2 separate regions of the Homo sapiens genome follow, and region 1 is linked to region 2. The links are contacts of gene promoters, found by promoter capture Hi-C in blood cells and fetal thymus (Javierre and others, 2016). All regions are on one chromosome and are shown on one strand. Each heading gives the region's core, a stretch centred on a gene start or on the middle of the fragment in contact. The rest is flanking DNA. Distances are from core to core; before and after follow the strand shown. Region 1 overlaps H6PD (hexose-6-phosphate dehydrogenase/glucose 1-dehydrogenase). Region 2 holds the start of GPR157 (G protein-coupled receptor 157).

Region 1 (5,697 bases), core at 63-2,562, 120 kb after region 2:
TCTCTCTCGGGTAGTTCTAAGGATTAAATCAGATAATGCACACGGAAATACGTTACAAATGGAAGTGTTGTTGTTCTTCCAAGTTTGCAAGGAGAGGCAGCGGCAGTGTTCTTGCAGTGTGTCTGAGTTCCACGTGACTTATATTGGATTATTATATAAATCCTGTAATTGATCTGTCATACTTTTATGTCCATTCTTTATGTCATATTTCTCTCTCACATATACATACACAGTTGTATACATACTTAAATCTCTATGTATTAGCAGTCTGCACAACATATACCTTTTAATATTTATATTTCTGTTCAGTTCTGTTCATACCACAGAATATGTGTTATAAACTCTTTTATTAAGCTTTTTGGTTGTTTCTAGTTTTTTGCTATTTTATTATTATTATCTTGGAGTCTTGTTATGTTACCCAGGCTGGTCTTGAACGCCTGGTCTCAAGTGATCCTCTCTTGCTTTAACCTCCCAAATAGCTGAGACTACAGGAGTGCCCCACCTCCCCGGCTTCTATCTTAGATGGTACTTTGTGAGCTTTTTTTAAAATTGAGATACAATGCACATACCACAAAATTTACGCTTTTAAAATATAAAATTAAGTGGTTTTTAGTATATTTACAAAGTTATGCAACTACTATCTAATTCGAGAACATTTATGAGCATTTTAAAAAACATATTCCCTTTAAGTATATACTTCGGCAGTAGAATGACGGGGCCAAAGGGGAGAAGTGCTTTCTAGCTGTTACTCTCTGTTATGAGTCTGAGCAGCACAGCTGGCGGGCACAGCCATGGCCCCCCTGCTTTGTCATCCTCTGACCTTGGACGAGCTCTGGATGTGCACAGGTGGGAGCCAAGTTTACAGGGGGTCTTTCCTCCCAGTGTCCACCCTGGTTGTGCTTTTCTCTATCCTTTTCATATACTGATGGGTTTCAACCCTCAACTTTCAACCCGGGAAAATACACTAGGAGCCAATATAGATCATTTTTAGGAGAAATCAGTCCACAATAACGGGCAGTAACTAGAAAAGATCAACATCAGCAGGAGGGCCAGCCCCTCGCCTCCTGTCCTTGCACTCAGCTGCATGGCCTCTTCCCAGGGAGGTGCCAGGCCACAGTCCCAGTCACTGCATTAAACTCTGAAAAGACGGAGCCAACCAGGCAAAGTCCATAAATCTACAGGCCGTGTTAAACACAGGCGCACCCCCTGAAGCTTGAAATTAAGGAATAAAGGAAGCTCTCTTTTACCCAGCAGGTAGTAAACCCGTGGAATGCATTCTTTTTGAGAATTGAGAGAGGATAAAAATAGGAAAGGGGCCGCTTAGGGATTCGCTACATTAATGAATAGTAAGCAGATAACAGGGCTTTTAGGGACTCTGTTGTGTTCCCTTCATCAAAAATTCATCTGTTTTTAAAGCTTTAAGTATGCTGTTGACATATAAATCCACTGTAATTCATTGATTGGAAGACATTTTTTTCATATTTGGACGTCTCTGAAGTTGGGTTTATCCTTAATAGGGTGACATAGTGGAACTGGAAACCCTTTTCTTTCTTAGGGGTTATAAAACAGCGATGCTTCCGCCACTGATGGCATTTCAGGTTTGATGAAATCCAGTTTATCTCCAGTGTGCGTTGTCTCCCCAGGCCCTAGTTTATACCTCCAGCCGCCTTTTAGATCATTTCATGGGGTGTTGCACCATCCCTTCAGATTCAGCAGATTTAGAATGAAAACCATCACTGCATTTTTCTCATGAAATACCAACTGTGTTTTCTAACCTCTTTATTTCAAATGGGAACAGTGCTCTCTGAGTGACCAGGCTGGTAGCCCTTCTCTTACAGCATCTGTCATAAGAAAAATTCCAACCAGTCTTTATCAGTGTTTCCTGTGTGCTAGCCACTGTTCCAAGCCCTGTGTGGATATTAACTCCTTCAGGCCCACAGAAGCCCTGTAAGGGAGGTGCGGGGATTGTTGCTTGTTCGTATGTGAGGTGATGTCAGTTGCTGGAGATCACAGGGCTGAAAGATGGCAGAGCCGGTATTTAAACCGGGGCAGGCTGGGCACGGGGGCTTATACCTGTAATCCCAGCACTTTGGGAGGCCGAGACGGGTGGATCACTTGAGGTCAGGCGTTCAAGACCAGCCTGGTCAAATGGTGAAACCCCATCTCCACTAAAAATACAAAAATTATCCAGGCATGGTAGTTTGTGCCTGTAATCCCAGCTACTCGGGAGGCTGAGGCAGGAGAATTGCTTGAACCCAGGAGGCGAAGGTTACAGTGAGCCAAGATCGCGCCACTGCACTGCAGCCTGGGTAATGGGGAGACTCCATCTCCAATAAAATAAAACAAAATAAGATAAGATAAAATAAGATAAAATAAACTGGAGCAGCCTGGCTCCAGAGACCACACTCCAGATCACAGCTCTGTACCACCATTCAAGGATCCAGCCAGTCACCAAGTAGTTTGTATTCATCTGCTATAATAACTTCTTTGCAGTTCACTGTGACTTCGTTCCCTCCTACCTTTGTTACTTCCTTTGATGGCAGCAAAGGCTGCCTCACTGATTTCACTACCACCAGTCCCATCCTGTTCATCTTGGAGGTCGCAGACAGCTTCATCTTCCTGAAGTACCTCTTTCGTGCTTCTGCTTCCCTGTTCTAAAACCTTTTTTAAAAAGTTTTATTGAGCTGTAACTCACAAATCCTACTACACTTTACCCAGTTAAGGTGGACAGGCCAGTGAGCTTTCGTGTATTCACAGAGTTGTGTGTCAGTACCACAATCAATTTTAGGACATGTTCATCACGGCAAAGGAAGCCCTGTACCCCTTCGTTGTCATCCCACAATTTCCCCCTCTCCCCAGCTCCTGGCAACCACAGAAATGCATTCTCTCTGCGGGGTTGCCTGTTCTGGATATTTTGTACATATAGGATCATACGGTGTGTGGTTTCCATCAGTTAGCATCCTGAGTTCAGAGTTCACCCATGTTCTAGCATGTACCAGCACTTCATTTCTTTTTACTGCTGAATAATATCTTATTGTATAGATATACCATAATTTATCCAGTCACCAGTTAGTGGACATTTGGGTTGCCTCTACTTTTTGGCTGTTATATATAATGCTGCAATGAGCATTCATGTACAAGCTTTTGTGTGGACCTGCATTTTTATTTCTCTTGAGTATAAACCCAGGAGTGGGGTTGCTGGAGGATCATGACTCTGTTTAACTGTTTGAGGCCAATAACTCTTATTTATTTATTTATTTTTTATTTTTTATTTTTGGAGACAGGGTCTTTATCTGTCGCCCTGGCTGGAGTGCAGTGGTGCAATCATAGCCCACTGCAGCCTCGACCTCCTAGGCTTAAGTGATCCTCCCACCTCAGCCTCCCAAGTAGCTGGGACCACAGGTGTATTTCACCATGCCCAGCTAATTTTTGTATTTTTTGTAGAGATGGGGTTTTGCCATGTTGCCTAGGCTGGTCTTGAACTCCTGGACTCAGGAGATCTGCCCACCTCAGCCTCCCAAAGTGCTGGGATTACAAGCATAAGCCACTGTGCCAGGCCTTAGGTCCCTTTCAAATGCAAGATATTCCTGATTTTCCTGTTCTATTATTGCAGGGGAAGGGAAGAATTGTCTTTTTACATTCTCCCGAAAAGGAGAATTGGAAGATTTGGTCACCCTGGGCCCACACTCCTGTGAGGCACCACCTGAATGCACCTGAGGTACTTAACTGTACCTCTGAGGGACACCAGCCTTACTCCATCCTTTTCGCTTTTGCTGGCCCCGGTAGGCATTGGAATCTCTGAGCTTTGCCCTAGACCCCTCCTTCCAGAAGCTCAGCCGGCTTCTTCATTGTGCTCTGTTTCTAAAGGCCAGTGGTGCCCACGCCACTCAACTTCACACCGTTCTGTTGTAGGGTTGAAGAGTGGGTAATTAAAAGGGAAATGTTTTGGTGGTAAGAATTGCAGGCTCTGGGTCGAACTGCCTGGGTTTGAAGCTATTTTTACCTCTTTACCAGCTGTGTGTGACCTTGGGTAAGTTATCCAACCTCTCTGAACTTCAGGTTCCTTATATTTTAAAATAGGGGAAATAGAGGGGCCTCCTTATATGTTGTTATTCTGAGGATAAATGGACTGATCCACAAACATTGCTGGCATCAGTTTCTCTTTTTCTGGATGTCTTCTCAACAATAGCACAAGAACTTGAAGGCCACAACACTACAGAGCTGGGGGATCTCAGCCATTGTTTTCCCAGTGGAGACCACTCTTGGCATTTTGGTTGGCACAGTTGGGCTGGACTTCCTGCTCATTTCAAGGTTTAGTATCCCTGGACAGAGCTGCACCCTCTAGCTCCTGGTTGTTATGGCCGGGGACAGAGTGCCTTCCTACGAGTGGCTGCCGGCTTCATTTCTTGCCCCCCAACACTGGTGCTGCTGTCGGGAATGGCATATCGGGCTGGATTCAGGGCAGGTTGTTCCCCCAGCCATGACCTGGACATGCTTGCTGTCTGGTTGGCCCGAGAGTGCACACCACCAACCTGGTCAGGGCAGGTGCCCAGGACTGGCGCCATGGACCCAGAGTGGCTGCTGGGAGGGGAGCATGCTGGGCTCAGCAGGCCTGAACTTAGGATCTGCTGCTTTTTGTCTGTTGGAATTAAATGTTAACTAGATACTAGGTAAATTTAAAGTTTACAGAATGCATGGAAGAGATACAGAACTATGGTATAAGAAACGGGGATGCACCTACCACCCGTTTTTAAAAAAGAATTTGATTCTCCTGCGTGTCCCTCCCCACGTTCTGACCTATTTCCTCATCTTACACTTCCAAATTGTGGATAGATTATTCCCTCGCTTCTCTTTCTGTTTCCATGCACGCCTGGTTCCCTAAACAACCTGTTGTTTAATTTTGAACAAGAGTCATCCTGTATGTGTCCGAGCATGGATCTTTTTGTCTCTGTGTCCAGCATTTGGGAGAATCGCCTCAGCTCTGTCTTCTGCTAGCTGACTCTTTACAGCTGTTTCTCATCTGTAAGGCCCATCTACTGAATTTCTAGTTTCCAATTATATTTTTCATTTATTGAAGTTCTGTTTATTTTGGTCACTTTATATCCTGTTTTCTTTTTCTTTCTTTTTTTTTTTTGAGACAGGGTCTCATGCGGTGTTGTCCAGATGGGGTGCAGTGGCAGGTTCACAGCTCACTGCAGCCTTGACCTCCTGGGCTCAAGCAATCCTCCCACCCCAGCCTCCCAAATAGTTGGGACCACACTTGGCTAATTTTTTTTTTTTAATTTTTTGTAGAAACAGGGTCTCACTTTGTTGCCCAAGATGGTCTTGAACTCCTGGACTCTGGGCTCAAGTGATCCTCCTGCCTTGGCCTCCCAAAGTGCTGGGATTACCAGCATGAGCCAGTCCGCCTGGCCTATATCCTATTTTCAAGTTAATTTTTATTTTATCAAAGTAATCATGTTGCTTTCTCACCACATTACGTCTTGGAGGTTTATCCGTGACAATGTGTGGATCTTCATTTTCTCTGCTGTCCACTGTCTGAACGTAGTGCTGTGTTAGGGGCTAGGGATGCAGCAGAGGGCAGATGCCACTCAGATGGAGCCTCCCTCGTAGTGGGGAAGAAAGAGAAACAGGCCTGAATTACAGTCAGCTGGGCTAGAAGAAGCCAGGGCCCCTCAGAAGGGGTAGGCCAAAGCT
Region 2 (5,803 bases), core at 651-3,150:
TCCTGAACAACACAGAAACCCCCCTAGAGGGTCCGTAATGAGAACCGAACAGAAAAACCCCCAACTCAGGTTTGCTGGGCAATCCTTCTTTTCCACAGAAGCTGGACCAGGTTCTGTTACCATTAAAAAAATACTGTATTCAATATTTTTAAAGACAAGAAGGGAAAGAGAACAGGTTCTTGCAAAGAGAGGTACAGCCTCGACTCCTTCCAAGTACACACGATCTCCCGTGTACTCGGGGCCCACACCCAGCCAGCCATCACGGGACCCAGACAGGGTCAGATGGGATGCTGCCGGGAAGGCAAGGCAAGGCAGGGCCCTATTCCATCTGCAGCATCTGAGCCTCGGTTTGGATGATGTGTTGCAAAGATTTTTTACTTGTACAGCTGAGAAGCAGGTCACTTAGTTTCTCAAGGACCAGCCGGCCTCAGTGCACAACTGAAGGTCAAGCGACTCTTACAGCCCTGTAGCCTTGCCGTGTGACACCCAGGTGACCTGTCTCTGCCAAAGTGCTGACTGTGCTCGCAGTCCTTGGAATGCACTTAAGTTTTTAATAGAAAGGACCTATAATTAGGGCAGTATCTGATGCTCTGATCTGGGAGAAGGAGAAAAGGAAAACAGCCCCTAGGATTCCTGCCCTCAGTTCAGCACAGCACAGGACGCCATGAGATTTTCAAAACCTGACATTCCCCAGGGAAGGGCCGACCCTCTTCAGCGAGGCTTACTTGAAAGACGCTTGAATCGCAAAGTAAGGTCTTGGCTTTTCCCCACTCTCAGAGAGACTCCAGGAGGACTCCGAGACTCCCAGACCAGCCCTCCGCCCCTGCCCTCAATCTCAGAATTGCTGAACTCTGGAAAGTCAAGATCATCTAGAACAGAAATACAAGGGGCTGGGGCCTGAGGCTAGAAACGACCAAAGACAGAATAAAAAGCACAGTCCTTTGTAAACTGTACAGCAGAGACACGGCAGCTCGGGAGTGGCGGAGTGCACCAAGCTCACTGTGGCTTGGGGTGGGGTGGTGGCGTGGGACTGGCAGTTGCCGGCTCTCCAGCCCGGGACAGTTACCTAACTCGTCTCCCAGCCTGTTTCCCCATGGGCAGCAGAGACAGCCAGGACACAGTGAAGCAGGTCACAAGGGGCTCAGAGTGTCCTCCCCAGCCCCGTCCAAGGAAACAGGGCCCGGCTCTGGGGGCGAACTCTGTCCCCACTACCCCAAGGGGCTGTGCCCTGGGGCAGGCACAGCGGGGCTCCTTCGGGAGGGAGCGAATCTCGGGCAAGGCTGGCCTCCTCCCGCTGGCCCAGGACAGCCTCGGGGGCGCCAGCAGGCACTGCTTGCTGTGGGTAGGGGGTGTCCAACCTAGACGCGGCCTCTGGGAGGGCAAGACCGGGAGGGGTCGGCCTGTGTCGGGGGCTCCTGGAAAAGCAGCGCCACCGCCACCCACCTGACGACATGGAAGGCCCAAAGCAGGCGATCTGTGCGAGGCCCGCGCGCGGCGCGGACGATGCTGAGGTACAAGTAGAGCGCAATGGCCACGGTCCAGAAGAAGGAGCTGGTGTTGGCGAAGGTGGACAGCGCGCCCTGCAGCACGCAGTCCCACGACGGGCCCGCGAAGTTCTGCAGCACTCCGTAGAAGTAGGAGGCGGCCGAGAGCAGGTCGGCCAGCGACAGGAAGAGCAGCAGGCGCCGTGCCCGGCTGCGCAGGTCGGGCCACAGGGCGTGCGTGGCCACCAGCAGGCCCGAGCCGAGCGCGGAGAGTGCGCACGACAGCAGCACCACGGCGCGCTCCGACGGCACCAGCTCGGTGGGCGGCGGGGACGGCTGCATGGCGTGGGGGGCCAGGAGCCGGAGCGCCGCGAGGACAGAAGCCGGGCCGCGCGTGCGGCCACGCCGCCGCCGTCTGGGCACCGAGGCGCCCTAGGCTCGCGTCCAGGCGCCCGCCCCGCCCGCGTCCGGCCGCTCCCCCGCCCATCTGGGCCCCGGGCCCTGAACCCCGTCCACGCCCTGCGCCCCGCCCCTATATCCCGGGCCCTGAGCCCCGCCCACGCGCCGCGCCCCACCCCGGTACCCCGGCCTTTAAGCCCCGCCTACACTCCCAGCCCCGTCCCGCCGTCCCAGGCCCTGAGCCCCGCCCACAATCCGAGCCCCGGACACACGTCCCCCGGCCCACATGCCCTTCCCGCCCACACGCCCCCCCCCCGCCCGTGTGCCCCCGCGTTGAGACTGGGACTTAGAGCTCCGCCCACGCGCCCCGATCCCCTGTCCACAGGGCCCAGAGACCTGGGCCTAGAGCCTAACCCACGCGCCCCGCTCCGCCCACGCACCCCGCCACACCCCTGTGTTCCGGGCCCTGACCCTGGCTCAGGTGCCCTTCCTCGTCCCGTTGCCCCGGGCCCTGAGCCCCGCCCCCGCCACGCCCCTGAGGCTTCCAAGCTCCACCCGGTGCCCGAGGCTCCTGAGCCCCGCCCACGCCCTCACACCACGCCCCTAAGCCCCTAGGTCCCTAAGCCCTACCTCAGGGCACCCCCAGGTCCCAGCACCTGTCCCTCCACGCTCCTCCAGGCCCACCCCTGCTCTTGCCAGGTGTCTGGGACATCCAGTCCTGTGAGAGGAAGGGCTGGCATTTTTAGGGCTAATATTACTTTCCCTCTTTTCAGCCAGCTTCTGTGTGTGTTGTGAGTGGAAGGGCGTGAGGATCAGAGGCATTCTTTCCACTAGCAACAGAAACAGCTCTCGGGTATGATCCTCATTCCTTCAGCCGTGATCCCGACGTGTTCACAAGTTGGTGGTGACTTGGGGAAGCCGGCGTTTCCACCTTTTCTTAAAATAAGCATGCTATTTTTTAAAAACCATAGCTAACTAGGTGTGATTTTTAAAAAATGAAATGCTAGGCAGGGCATGGCTTTTTCTTTAAAAATTTCAAACTTTGTAATTAAGATGTAATTCACATACCATAAAATTGGCCCTCTTAACCGAACAATTCAGTAGTATGTTCACAAGTTTGTGCAACCATCATTATTATGTAATTCTACAACATTGTCATTACTCCCAAAAAGAAATCCTTATCCCTCAGCTGTTAGCCCTCAGTTCTCCCCGACAGCCCTGGCAACCACTCTTCTACCGTGGATTTGCTTATTCTGCACATTTCCTGTAAATAGACTCATATGCTCTGTGGCCTTTATGTCTGACTTTTTTAACTTAGCACGTTTCCAAGGTTCATCGTAGCATATGCAGTGCTTCATTCCTTTTACTGCCCCGTAATATTCCATTATATGGATATACCACCTTTTTTTTTTTTTTCTAGAGACGGAGTCTCCCTCTGTCGCCCAGGCTGGAGAGCCGTGGCATGATCTCGGCTCACTGCAACCTCTGCCTCCCGGCTTCAAGCAGTTCTCCTGCCTCAGCCTCCCGAGTAGCTGGGACTACAGGCACACGCCGCCACGCCCGGCTAATTTCTTTTCTATTTTAGTAGAGGTGGGGTTTCACCGTGTTGCCCAGGCTGGTCTTGAACTCCTGAGCTCAGGCAATCTGCCTGCCTTGGCCTCCCAAAGTGCTAGGATTACAGGCATGAGCTACCGCGCTCGGCAGGATATACCACATTTTACTTAGCTATTATTCATCAGCCGATGGACATTTGGGTTGTTAACACTTTTTAACTATTAAGAATAATACCACTATGAAAATTTGCATACAAGTTTTTTTGTGGGTGTATGTTTTCAATTCTCCTATGTGTATACCTAGGAATGGAGTTGCTGGGCCATACGCAACTTTATATTTCACCTTGTGAGGAACTGCCAAGGTGTTTTCCAAAGTGACTGTACATATCATTTTACATTTGCACTAGCAATGAAGGTCGCAATTTCTCTACATTCTTCCAAAACTTTTTTTTGAGACAAGGTCTTGTCGCCGAGGCTGGAGTGCAGGTACAACCACAGCTCACTGCAGTCTCAAATTCCTAGGCTTAAGAATTCTCCCACCTTGGCCTCCCCAGTAGTTAGGACTTCAGGTGCATGTCACCATGCCCCACTAATTTTTTTTTTTTTTTTTTTTTGAGACTGAGTCTCGCTCTTGTTGCCCAGGTTGGAGTGCAGTGGCGTGATCTTGGCTCACTGCAACCTCTGCCTCCCGGGTTCAAGCGATTTTCCTGTCTCAGCCTCCTGAGTAGCTGGGATTACAGGTGTGCACCACCACAACCTGCTAATTTTTGTATTTTTAGTAGAGACAGGGTTTCACTGTATTGGCCAGGCTGGTCTTGAACTCCTGACCTCAGGTGATCTGCCCGCCTCAACCTCCCAAAGTGCTGGGATTACAGGTGTGAGCCACCTTGCCTGGGCCCCACTAATTTTTTTTTTGGAGATGGGGTCTCACTGTATTGCCCAGGCTGGTCTCAAACTCCTGCCTTGGCCTCCCAAAGTGCTGGGATTACAGGCGTGAGGCCACCTCACCCAGCCTTCCTACATTTTGTATTATCTTTGTGATAATAGCCATCCTAGTGGGTGTGAAGTTGTTCCTCATTGTGGTTTTGATTTGCGTTTCCCTGATGAATAATGCCCTCAAACATCTTTCCATGTGTGTATTGGACATTTGCATATCCTCTTTGGAGAAATGTCTGTTCAACTTTCTTTCTTTCTTTCTCTCTCTCTCTTTCTCTCTCTGTCTCTCTTTCTTTCTTCTGTTCCTTTTTTTTTTTTTTTTTTTTTTTTGAGACTGAGTCTCGCACTGTCACCCTGGCTGGAATGCAATGGCGCGATCTTGGCTCACTGTGACTTCTGCCTCTTGGGTTCAAGCGATTCTCCTGTCTCAGCCTCCCAAGTAGCTGGGATTATAGGCGCCAGCCACCACGCCCAGCTAATTTTTGTCTTTTTAGTAGAGATGGGGTTTCACCATGTTGATCAGGCTGGTCACAAACTCCTGACTTAGAGTGATCCACCCGCCTCGGCCTCTCAAAGTGCTAGGATTACAGGCGTCAGTCACCACACCTGGTCAATTTTCTTTCTTATTTTTAAATTGGTTTGTCTTTTTGTTGTTGAGTTGCAAGAGTTCTTTATATATTCTAGCTATTACACCCTTATCAGCTATATGATTTGCAAATATTTTCTCCCATTTTGTGGTTTGTCTTTTCACTTTCTTGATAGCATGTTTCAAAGGAAAAAAGTGTTTTTTGAGTATGTCCAATTTGTCCATTTTTTTCTTTGGTTGTTTGTGCTTTTGGTGTCACATCTAAGAAACCATCACCTATGCCAAACTCATGAAGGTTTGCATCTATGTTTTGTTTCTTTCCAATACCTCACTGTTATGGTTACTGTAGCTTTGTAGTGAGTTTTGAAATTGGGAAGGGAGTCCTTCAAAATTGTTTTTTCTTTTTTGGGGAGAGTCTTACTATCTTGCCCAGACTGGAGTGCAGTGGTTTGATCTTGGCCCACTGCAACCTTTGCTTCCCAGGTTCGAGCGATTCTCCTGCCTCAGCCTTCCGAGTAGCTGGGACTACAGGCGCCCGCTACCATGCCTGGCTAATTTTTGTATTTTTAGTGGAGGCAGGGTTTCACTATGTTGCCCAGGCTGTTTTCGAACTCCTGATCTCAAGTGGTCTGCCCGCCTCGACCTCCCAAAGTGCTGGGATTACAGGCATGAACCACCGCACCCTACCCTTCAACATTGTTTTTCTTTTCCAATATTTTGGCTATCTGACGCCCCTTGCGATTCCCTATCAATTTGAGGATCCGTTTTTCTATTTCTGCAAGAGGAATGGAAAAGATTGATAGAGATTGCTTTGATTCTGTAGATAAAAGTGGAGAATAATGCTA

What was found. The method cuts DNA at HindIII sites, captures the fragments that hold promoters and counts their contacts. A CHiCAGO score of 5 or more calls a contact.
Region 1: a contact is called between a fragment that was not itself captured here and the fragment with the promoter of GPR157 in region 2, in 2 of 17 cell types (M1 macrophages and megakaryocytes). The highest score is 5.6, in M1 macrophages.

What each region holds. Positions count from the first base shown.
Region 1 is chr1:9,252,023-9,257,719 of GRCh38, forward strand. All of the region lies in intron 3 of H6PD (hexose-6-phosphate dehydrogenase/glucose 1-dehydrogenase), which reads left to right. Among named protein-coding and RNA genes, the nearest start is that of H6PD, 20 kb to the left of the region's middle. RefSeq lists enhancers at 1-182, 445-1,004. The HindIII fragment of the contact is 204 bases long and covers 1,211-1,414 here.
Region 2 is chr1:9,127,202-9,133,004 of GRCh38, forward strand. GPR157 (G protein-coupled receptor 157) reads right to left here and starts at 1,901. Exons shown (of 4, transcript NM_024980.5): 1 at 1,444-1,901. The coding sequence starts at 1,826. RefSeq lists silencers at 1,758-2,107, 2,168-2,487 and enhancers at 3,189-3,258, 3,279-3,398, 3,689-3,778. The HindIII fragment of the contact is 8,185 bases long and covers 1-5,803 here.